2 separate regions of the Homo sapiens genome follow, and region 1 is linked to region 2. Evidence: promoter capture Hi-C in 16 types of primary human blood cells and fetal thymus (Javierre and others, 2016). All regions are on one chromosome and are shown on one strand. Each heading gives the region's core, a stretch centred on a gene start or on the middle of the fragment in contact. The rest is flanking DNA. Distances are from core to core; before and after follow the strand shown. Region 1 overlaps PHTF2 (putative homeodomain transcription factor 2). Region 2 holds the start of GSAP (gamma-secretase activating protein).

What was found. The method cuts DNA at HindIII sites, captures the fragments that hold promoters and counts their contacts. A CHiCAGO score of 5 or more calls a contact.
Region 1: a fragment that was not itself captured here is called in contact with the fragment with the promoter of GSAP in region 2 in 1 of 17 cell types (total B cells); the score reaches 5.3 in total B cells.

Annotation. Positions count from the first base shown.
Region 1 is chr7:77,935,043-77,941,103 of GRCh38, reverse strand. It overlaps PHTF2 (putative homeodomain transcription factor 2), which reads right to left. Exons shown (of 19, transcript NM_001395272.1): 12 at 3,266-3,394; 13 at 802-1,074; 14 at 445-576. Among named protein-coding and RNA genes, the nearest start is that of DDX3ILA1, 52 kb to the left of the region's middle. The HindIII fragment of the contact is 3,332 bases long and covers 1,949-5,280 here.
Region 2 is chr7:77,412,572-77,418,157 of GRCh38, reverse strand. It overlaps GSAP (gamma-secretase activating protein), which reads left to right and starts at 1,809. Exons shown (of 31, transcript NM_017439.4): 1 at 1,809-1,945. The coding sequence starts at 1,837. It overlaps LOC101927243 (a long non-coding RNA gene), which reads right to left and starts at 2,960. Exons shown (of 5, transcript NR_110073.1): 1 at 2,810-2,960. RefSeq lists silencers at 1,514-1,863, 2,084-2,293, 2,354-2,643. The HindIII fragment of the contact is 1,753 bases long and covers 608-2,360 here.

The DNA.
Region 1 (6,061 bases), core at 2,365-4,864, 520 kb before region 2:
ATGACATTCTACTGCTACTTAATGCAATAACAAGAAGTAATCCTCAGAAAAAAAGTGTTTTCCTAAAACCAATTTAGATGTTTCCCTCTTCCCTCCAGAGTTTTTATATCATACTTCCATAATTAGGAAAATTACTCAAAAGATTAAAGGAAAATAATGACATGAAAAGAATGACACTGAATTGCAAACTAATATTTTAAAATAGTAATAGGTCACTTCTGTGAGGAAACTCATTGGTTATTTTTTTTAAATTCTTTTTTAAGTAGTGGGCTCCCTCTGCTGGCTTGTGACAACCAGGCTAGTAGAAACAAAATCCCTAATCCAGTTTTTGAATGAGTAAAAGCTGGTTACTATACATCTAGAGACAAATATATATTGATAAAGAAACTGGAACTATCAGAAAGGGCCAGCATGTTAAAGCTACTTTTATCACTCCCATTCTACCTTAAGATAGGAACGGAGAGATAGCCACATTTTTATATTCTGTACTTTCTTCAACCGGAAATGAGGAACCTCAGATTTTCGAGCCCTCCTTGCAGATGTTAAATGTCCAAAGAGTTTTGCAAAAAGTAATCGCTAAAAAAGATTAAGATGAGGATTAATTTTCAAGTAGATTACCACAGAAAAACAAAATTAACAAAATATGAATTGTTAAGATTTTATTTGGTTAGGTACTATAAAAGCAAAATAAAAAATAATTAGGTAAAAATGATATAATGAAATAATAAAGTACTTCAGGAATACTTTTAATATTATGAAAACGATAAAATATTCTTATTCGGAAGTCTACATTATACCCACCTGTTTATAAGTTCTTTCTGCTACACAGAGCAAAAAAAAGAAAATCCACACAAGAGACACGCGAACCACAAAACTTATTATAACCATAGAAAGAACTATGACATCTTCATTAGAACCAAATGCAATCACATAAAGTTCTGAAGCAGAATGTGCTGTGAGTTGTTCCAAGTCTGTAGCTTGAGAAAGTCGGAAAACAAATGGAGTTAAACCCAGTATGAGAGAGACTGCATTTCCAAAAATCTGGTATCCTATTCCTGGTATATGGCTGTTCACCTTGAGGGAGCCAGGGGAAGAGAGAGAAAAGAAAAATAAAATTATACCATAAATTTTATCTACAGTAGAATTATTTATAGCAATATGAAATCATTTGTTAAAATATACTCATTCTGAGTAATTTGAATCCCATTCAAGTTTGAGAGCCTACTACATATAAAATGTCATTAATTCTTCAGATCTTAAAAACAATTATCAGATCGCTAATTTACTAAGTAGATGGCAAAAGGACTGTCATCCAGATCTTGAAAAAAATTTATGTATTTCATTATTTCAAGTTAGAAATATTCATAAATACTGCAATATTAAAGAGAATGAGATCTCATATCCACTGAAATTCAGTTCATTGAAGAAAAAACTCAGCATTACACTTATTTCATACGTTTGTACATTTGTAACTTGAGGTTTTCTTTCTGTTTTCTTTTTTTTTTTTTTTTTTTGAGACAGGGTCTCACTCTATTGCCCAGGCTGGAGTACAGTGGCACAATAATGGGCTCAAGTGATCCCTCCCAACTCAGCATTCCTAGTAGCTGGGACTACAGGTATACACCACCGCCCCCAGCTAATTTTTTGGGTTTTGTAGAGATGTAAAGACAGGGTTTCACTATGTTGCTCAGGCTGGTCTTTAACTCCTGGGCTCAAGCGATCATCCCTCCTCTAGCTCCCAAAGTGTTGAGATTACAGGCATAAGCCAACACACCCAGCCGCTTACATTTCTCTTTGAATAGTCCAATATATAAATAAGTGTCTCCTTAAACTCTAAAAGCATTTTAGAAGAGAGATGATAGAAGGAAGAAGAAATTAAACAGAAAGGGAAAAAGGTGAGGGAATTATTTTAAAAAAGGAAATTAGATAATGGGACAATATAAAAGCTTCCAGTATGCTAGACTGGCAGAACTAAAAGAGATCTTAACTATCATGTAGCCAACTTTTTATAATATATATTAGATAAATGAGACCATTGTAAGTTAAGTGATCTGCCAATTCACAGGTAATTAAGTTACAGAGCACAAACTAGATCCAAGATTCCAGAGACTTCCCCGTCAACTGCTTTTAATTGCTCACACTGAGATATGTTATAGGGAGTATTATCAATTTCTAGACCCAGTTATTATAATTCCTGTCTTACACAAAGTGTGGAGAAGAGTTCAAGCACAATAATGCACCAAAGAAATTTAGAAATTGCAAGTTAAAAACAAGTCCAGAGAAATCAACACATTTTATTTTATTTTATTTTTATTTATTTATTTTTTGAGACGGAGTCTCGCTCTGTCGCCCAGGCTGGAGTGCAGTGGCGTGATCTTGGCTCACTGCAAGCTCCGCCTCCCAGGTTAATGCCATTCTCCTGCCTCAGCCTCCCGAGTAGCTGGGACTACAGGCGCCCGCCACCACGCCCGGCTAATTTTTTGTATTTTTAGTAGAGACAGGGTTTCACCACGCCTGGCTAATTTTTTTGTATTTTTAGTAGAGACGGGGTTTCACCATGTTAGCCAGGATGGTCTCGATCTCCTGACCTTGTGATCCGCCCGCCTCAGCCTCCCAAAGTGCTGGGATTACAGGCGTGAGCCACCGCGCCCGGCCAATCAACACATTTTAAAAATCAGTAATTATCTGAAAAAAGAAATAATAGAAAATAAAATTTTAATCCACAGTATTTCAATTAGACTTCTTTGAACTACTCAAGACTTTTACCACTATCTGCATTACTTCTATATATTTAAGTAGGTAAGCAAGTATGAATGCAAATTTACTAGTTTGATTTTTTCATGTCTTAAGTCCTATTAAACAAATGAACCAGTAAGAATGATACAGAAAAATAAGTCTTTTTAATTATTTTTTTATTTTTAAAGTTCTTGTAACAACAATCTCTAGTCCAAAGAAAAGTCTTTATTAACACCTGTATATATCTAACAAGCTCCTGAATTTCAAAAGAAAGAAAAAGATAAAAGAGAAAAATTATAGACCGTATCATCTATTCTTGGTCAGATAAGTGAAAACACTAGAAGATGAGAGTGGTTTGGTGACAAATCACTGTTTAAATTACAGACAGAAACAAATACACACATGTAACTTTTTTTTCAGGGTGAAGAAATGAGGTCAGAAGGTTACTAATATAATATTCCAGTAATTATCTTATATATAATTACTAAGTCTTACCCTTGAACTACAAGAATAAAATTTAAAAACTCACTCTGTTCATTATCATTCCACTGATTTCAAGTACAGACATGTCTGCTTTCTTACAATCATTACCTTCCCATACTATAGCACTTATTTTTTCTAATCCTGGGTGGGAACTATGGAGCCAGGGCAAATGACTCTATAAAAAAAAAAAAAATTAGTAAATATATAGATCACATTTAATAAATAAAATGTGTGTATATAAAGTTGTATATATATCTCTATATACACACACAATTTTAATGACACTAAAAATAAAAATTGGTGAATATATTTATCATGTTTTATAAATGGAATATATAGATCTGTGCACAGCTAATATATTTATACACACAACTCTAAGACACTAAAATTCTATCTTAAAATTAGTTAGCATATACACTGAACAGATATCATAAGAAGTTACATGGTTATGAAACTGTACAAGTTGAGAACTTTCTGTAACAAGTATTAGTCAACCTATGTTCAAAAATATACTAAAACATGTCAGCAAAAGTACTTAGTTGTCAGTCTACACAGCTGCAATATACTAATGCTAAAAGACAAATGGATATCAACTTGTTCATAGTAATCATTGTCCAACTTATGATCATTAAAAAAGAATATGACAGCTGAGATTTGAATCTCTTTGAAAGACCATATAGTGCTAGTCTTATCCCAAAAAAGACTCTTCCTTACATATTTAACGTTTAATATCTGATTTAGTTACTTTTCTGATATTTTAATCCAGCATTTCTCCAAAGGACCCATTTAACTTTTTTTTTTTTTCCAGATAAAGCAAATATTACAAAACTGAAGCACTCAGCCTCCTGAGTAGCTCGGACTACAGGCACCTGCCACCATGCCTGGCTAATTTTTTTATTTTTAGTAGAGACGGGGTTTCACCATGTTGGCCAGGCTGGTCTCTAACTCCTGACCTCAGGTGATCCACCGGCCTCTACCTCCCAAAGTGCTGGGATTACAGGTGTGAACCACTGCGCCCAGCCCCAAAACAGAACAGTTGAGTTAATGATGGCAACAAAATTAATGAAACACTAAACCTTTATATAATCAGACTTCAAGAGGAGAAGTAACACTAAAAGATTAAACCCAGATAGAGATCAGTTTGCTTGTTTATATTGCAGTATTTCTAGTGTATTTTTAAGGACTCATATACTTCCCACATTTTGTTTTTTGAGACGGAGTCTTGCTCTGTTACTCAGGCTGGAGTGCAATGGTGCGATCTCAGCTCACTGCAACCTCCGCCTCCCAGGTTCAAGTGATTCTCCTGCCTCAGCCTCCCAAGTAGCTGGGACTATAGGCGCCCACCACCACGCCCAGCTAATCTTTAAATTTTTGTAGAGACGGGGTTTCACCATGTTGACCAGGTTGGTCTCGAACTCCTGAACTTGTGATCTGCCCACCTAAGCCTCCCAAAGTGCTGGGATTACAGGCGTGAGCCACGGTGTCTGGCCACTTCCCACATTTTCTAAAAACAATAGTTTTGGCATTCGTAGCAACCTCAAATTTTATAAAATATTTCATTAAATATAACTTCTAACAATGAACAGAAGAATCTACTCTAGGTACATTTATTCTTTAGAGGACAAAAATGTGATTAAAATATGGTAAAAAAAATGTTTCTTGTAAACTTTTAACACTTTCCTCTAGGGGGAGTAAAGTTGCATTGATTAATTTCAACTAAAGTTGAATAATAATAATTCAATAATGTAAAAAAAAAGAGGTGGGAAATTTTTATCTTTTCTAGAGATGAAGGATTTTAATATACTTTAACTTTCATGGTATACATTTCACTACTTGAGGTCCTGAAGAGTGCTAAGATACTAGTTATTAACTACCAACTTAATTTCTCAAATGTTATTTCCTCATTTATCTCCAAACAAAATATTCTGTTTTGGGAAAGAAATAATCTGTACCAAAATATGTATCAAACTTTCACTAGAAATTTTACAATTGTTAAGCGTAAGGAAACCAAAAAGCCAGAAACAGGAAGTGCAAGAAGCTAAAAGGAAAGAAGTTTAAGCTTGAGAGCCAACAGATTTCAACCACTGATTTACAGACATTTTTAAACTCTCAGTCTGGAATAGTGAATTAAGGTCTTCCTAATTACATGAAGAAAGGAATATCAATACCAAGAAAGCCCATCTAGAGACAGAAATAGGAAATCAGGACATTCTCATTGTCCTCCCAAAAGCACTCCTTTTACATCTAGCTACCTTGCCAATTACTCTATCCAGCATCTGATATTACATTATTTCTAGAATGCCAAAAGGCAAAAGAGAAGACAGCAACTAGAAACTGGTGAATTTTAAAAGAGTTAATTACGCCGGGCGCGGTGGCTCACGCCTGTAATCCCAGCACTTTGGGAGGCTGAGGTGGGCGGATCACGAGGTCAGGAGATAGTAGCCATCCTGGCTAACACGGTGAAACCCCGTCTCTACTAAAAATACAAAAAGAAATCAGCCAGGCATGGTGGCTGGTGCCTGTAGTCCCAGGTACTGGGGAGGCTGAGGCAAGAGAATGGCGTGAACCCGGGAGGCAGAGCTTGAAGTGAGCCGAGATCGCGCCACTGCACTCCAGCCTGGGCGACAGAGTGGGACTCCGTCTGAAAAAAAAAAAAAAAAAAAAAAAAAAGGGTAAATTACATGTTCAATGTTGTGTGTAGAAACTTGAAAAAATAAATAAAAAAGACTGCTATATTCCTCTGTGTGTGTGTGTGGGGGGGGGGAATGTACACTGAAAAACAGTCTTGTTGAATCATGTCTGCAGTGTGGAGAACAGCATCACATGAAATTTTTTTTAAAAG
Region 2 (5,586 bases), core at 560-3,059:
GTGACTAAATTCTGGTGAGTGAAACATACGTAGAAATGTTGTGTAGAACTTCCGGGAAGTATCCTTAAAAGAGAGGTAGCATCCTCTTTTTATTCCTCTTCTTCCATTCTGATTTCTGGAATGCAGACGTGAAGGCTGAAGCTTCTGCAGCCCTCTTTGATCATGAGGACAAGGGTACACTCAGGATCAGGTGGAGCAAAGAACTGGAAGGAGCCTGGGTCCCTGATAAATTCAGGAACCTGCCCTAAGAGCTTTATTCTGCCTACGTCCAGCTAGGTGACAGAATAAAACTTGTGTGTTTAATTTACTGTTAATCTGAGTTCTTATTAACTTCTGGAGAATCTAATCCTAACTGATACACATGCCTTCATATAGCACCCTCATGATTTTGGCCACATCTTTCTATCATTATCTTATTGTTTCTCACCTTCTTTACATTGGCTTTTTCACTTAATTTGAAGAGAATTTTTTATATCATCACTGCTTGACTATAAAATCAGTCCTGCCTGGCAAAAATAGAAGTTAACTGCAAAAATAAAAACAATGGAAATGTACTGACTTTAAAAAATTGGCCAACAGTGTTTCTGTATGACAAAGGCAACAAGCTTATTTGATATGAAATAGTTGCATTAGCTCCTTGGGGGCTCCAGTGGCCTTCCTTTTATTCACTGATAATATTAGCAGCTTCATTAGGCATTTATCTTAAATTTGCATGCACTTCCCGGGTGGGAGGACTTTCCTCTGTATATGGTGGTGAGTAATGGAGTTCTACCTGAAATCATCCATTACCTCAGTTGGAGAAACATGTCTCTAGGAGGGAAAAAAATTCAAGACTTTCTTTTACATTTGGTTGGAGTAGTTTTCAAACTTAGTAAGCCTAAGAATCACCCGAGGCTCTGGGTAAAATGCACGTTTCTGGTCTTGTCCAGGTGTAGAGATCAGGAGTCTGCATTGTAAAATAGTGCCCCAGATGACGTCAATACAAGTAGTTTTCAGACCTTAATTTCGGAAGCATGTGAAAAAGCATTCTTTATTACTGTATTCACTCATTCTTCAGTAATTGTCGAGCACCTTCCAGAGTGCTCTGTTAGACCCTGGTGGGAGGCAGAGGGTTTGCGTGGAGACTTAAGATTCAGTTTTCATGTCTCAAGGCATCAAATGAGATGTACTAGAGTTAAAAGGCAAAAAGGACGCTGTTTGTATCAAGCGCATTAACCCCTTTTAGCGTTTCTCTTACAATGGGATCACCTTCGTCATACGCTCCCAGTTGCTACTCATTACCTTAATAACACTAATAAAGCACCACCACCTCGAAGCTGGGGCGAATAGGCCCAAGAGACGGCCTACTTCTGTGGTGACCCTGAACTGCTCCAGAGGACCCAGCTCTCTCAAGCCAAGTGGTTTCCACACTTTGCTGCACAGTGGAGGCACTTGTAGAATAAAGAAAATAGGCCGACCCTCCAGGTTTGGAAGCCACTGGGCTAGCGGCCTCGCCAAGGCCCTGAAGCGCCCACGTCTTTGCGCCCTCTATCCTCAGCCCCGAAGGTGCGCGCGGAGGCCTCCCGCCCCGGCGGGCCTGGTCCTGGCGCCTGGTCCACCCCGCCCCACCGCTACCCGCCGTGCCCGGCTCCGGCTCCGGCTCAGGTGCGGGCCGCCGGCCGGGAGGAGCTGGTGCCGGAGCTTCTCAGGCCAGGGCGCTGCAGAACCGAAAGCAGCAGGGGGCGGGGGAGAGGAAAGAGGGGGCGGGAGCGGGGACGCGAGGGCGAGGCGGCCACGCGGGGCCGGGAATGCCCGCGGTGCGGGGCCCCAGAGCCGCCCGGTGGTCGTGTCCGGGCGATGGCTCTTCGCCTGGTCGCCGACTTCGACCTCGGGAAGGACGTGCTCCCGTGGTTGCGGGCGCAGCGGGCAGTGTCGGAGGCCAGCGGGGCCGGAAGCGGCGGCGCAGGTGCGGGAGGCGCGCTGCGGAGAGGGGTGGGGGCGGGGAGTGGGAGTCCCTCATACCCCCCGGACTCCGACCCGGTGGGGAGCAACCCGGGGCGTCGCCGCCCTGAGAAGGCTGGTGCGAGGGCGTCGCTCCCCTCCTCAGAGGGCTGTTTTGGCTTTGCCACCCACACCCAGCCACGGCGGAAGGTCTGGGGGCAGAGCCCGGGCCAGGTCGCCGTGGGGCCTGAGGCGCCTGGCTCGCTGCCGGCCCGCGGAAATTCGCCCTTGGCAGAGGGGCCGGGCCGCTGGCGGTTCCCTCAGCATCACCTCACGGCGAGGGCAGAGGGTCGTGCTCAGCTCAGCGGCCGCATCCCACCTCCCGGGGGGTTCATCGGCAGCGCAGGGGCTTTGCCAAGACAGGAGTGCTCCTGGAAGCTTCACGTTTTGAGAAAGAATCCGTGACCACCAAGCAAACCACCCTATACCTAACGGTGGAACAGTTTGTCCCCACATTTGCGAGACGTGTTTATGTGTCTGTTGAACCGTGTCCGTGGCTCAGGGGACATGGGCCTCGGCGGTGAGGCGCAAGAGGGCAGGGGCCGCCTCCAGGCTGCGCGCGGCGGGGCGAGAGCCCCCAGCCGCCCCCGAGCTCCGCACCTGTGCAGGCTGGGGCTGCGCGCGAGATGCTCGGCTCCCGGCCCTGCCACTCCGGGCTTTTTGATGATTTGGTAAGGGAGTGAAAGTGACTTTTGAGCCTTCCCAGCACTGATCTGTTTTAAAGAAGGGGAACTTTGTGATTTCTTACAAAGTTTTAAAAGTCTTCTATAAATATTGGAGCTTCAGAGCTTAAATGCAGCTTCAAAGCAATGATGCCTGTAGGTCTCACCTTGTGTGTAGGGCGCTGTCCACTTCAGTGAATTTGGAAGTGGGTATTAAATGACCCACATCTACAACTCCTTTCCCTTAAACGCTGGTGAAAGTTTTCTTGATGTGAGTTATATATCAAGTTGCTATCTTGTATCTTCACACTCTCCTATGACTATAGCGAAATTATTTGTAGGTTTCCTTGGCTTGGAATATTATTAGCTCCAAATAAGGAGTTATATGTTTGTGTAGCGTATGCATTGAGTTTGCATTAGTGTCATGCTTAGTAAGGCTTTACTTTTTTTCGAGGTGGAGAGGGTGGTCAAGGAAGAATTTTATACAAAAATTAGCTGGGCGTGGTGACACGCTCCTGTAATCCCAGCTACTCGGGAGGCTGAGGCAGGAGAATCGCTTGAACCTGGGAGGCAGAGGTTGCAGTGAGCCGAGATCTCGCCACTGCACTCCAGCCTGGGCAACAGAGTAAGTCTCCGTCTCAAAAAAAAAAAAAAAAAAAAAAAAAAAAAAAGTCGCCCACATGTCTGAAAAGTTTTTGAAGGCTTAACTTTTTGAAATACAACAGGCAGCTCTGTCTTCTACTACCAAGTACTCCTTTTTCTGGACTCCCACTTTATTTTGCTAAATGGCAGGTGTCTGCAAATGAGAAGTTAGATGAGTGTGAAATGCCACAGTCTTATGTTTCCGTAATGTGTGTCGTGCTTGAAAAGCTGTGTGTGACCCACTGGGACCTGGCTTCCTTGTATCTTTCGCTCATCTCTGAAGAAATATAAACTTGTGTATTGACCTTCCACTAAACAACAGATAGCTCTAGGTCCTCAGAAGGTACTTTCTGGAAATACTAGCTTTTCTGATACTGGTAGTATTTTGCTCTTTCAGAGCAAATATCTTGGTAAGATATTAGCCCTGTTATACTAAGAGAATTATCACCTCTGATAATCACCAGTGGGTGGTAGCTCAAAAATACCCCCACACAAATTAATTCCTGTTCTGTAATTTATAGCAGTGGCAGGGAAATCTGGGATTCTGTCTCATTTCTAGCACAGCAGTTACAACACACATTTGTGGAAATCATTATCCTTTCAAAGTTCTGGCTTTTCAAATGTAAATTATGAATTACTATACCATTGTAATGCCTCCTCTATGCATACTTGCTTTCTGAATTTGAAGCCTTAATGTTTTTACATCAACAAATACAATTGAAGTTTTCTTAGAGGTGCTAAGTAATTCTCATGAGATATGTATGATATATTCCTGGCAAAACAGAGAGCTGGGCTGAGTCAGCCATGGAAATTCTGTGCCTGTAAGCATTTTGGTCAATAAGGGGTCAAGGAGGAAGGAGAACAGATTTGGTTACTGCATTTGCTCCTGGTTCTGGGTTGAACTTTTGAGAAAACAGTTTCTCCTGAAATAAAAGAAGATATTTGTTAAAAATCAAAACAACTACATAAAAGAATATTTTAACAGGTAGCTGTAAATGATAAAAGAAAGAAAAAAACCACCGAAGTAAAACCGTGTATCCACTACCCAGCTTAAAAACAGAGCAATGTCAAGACTCTTGAAGTCTCTTATGTGCTCCTTTCTGATTCTATTTCTTTCTCTCATCCTCACCTCCTAGGTTGGCAACCATTTACATTTTTATATTTTAACATTACTTTGACTTTATTTGTAGTTTTAGCCTATATGTATGGGCAAAATATTTCATTTTGCTTGCCTGTGAACTTTAAACATACTGTATGCATTCCTTTTGCTTATTTTCCTTCTCAATATTGTGAGATTTACCCATATTGACTGGCTAGCTGCAGGTTATTAATTTGTATTAATTAATGCTATATAGTGTTCCATAGTGTGAATTCAACACGATGGTGGACATGGAGATGCACCCCTTAGATTTTCCTTTCAAAGAACAGCTTGTCCCAGGTGCTGTGAGTATAGTCAGCAGGCAGTCTTCAGCTGTCAGCCCCTTCAGGGATTGCCTGCCAAGAGGGCTGCCCTACCCAACTTCACTTCCTTTTGGGTATGGACCACGTGAAACTGAGTGGGCTTTAAAGGCCTGGCCATTTTGACTGAACATGGGACAACTCCATTTCAGTTCCGAAGCTTCCTCTTTGAGGGACCCAAGGTCACCTGAGGATATTGGGCCTGCGTTGCTACTGGACTTCTCACCTACCAGGACTTGCTTCCTTCTCCTTCCTCTTAAGGGTGTTAATCCCACTTTCCTGAGCACTCCCTGATGAACATACTGGGTACTAAACTCTGTCTCAGAGTGCATCCTGGGGAACCCAACTTATTTTTCCAGTGGGTGGCTTTTGGGGGGTTTCTGGGGTTTGCTGTATGGTCAGTACTCTTACTAACCACCTGGTGCACACAGGCATATGTTTCTCTAGAATGTACGTCTAAAAGTAGAGTTGCTAAGTCATAGGCTGTGCACATCTTCGTCTTTCCTGGGCAGTGCCAAATTGTTTTCCAGAGTGTTGTACTTATTAACACTCTGATTTGTGGTGTGGAAATGTTTCTGATACTCACTATCCTCACAAGCCCGTGACAGCTCAAAATTTAATTTTTTTTTTTTTTTTTTTGTCAAACTGGTAGGATTAATTATTTCATTGTGCTCCGAGGTTGAGCATCTCTATGTATTTACTGGCCACTTGAATCTCCCTGCCTGTGAAATGTCTATTCATCCTTTTGTCCACTTTCCTATTTTTTTTAATTGATTATTTTAGGGGTTATGTTTTTGGGATTATAGTTCTTTATCACGTGTTGCAAATATTTTTCTCTCAATCT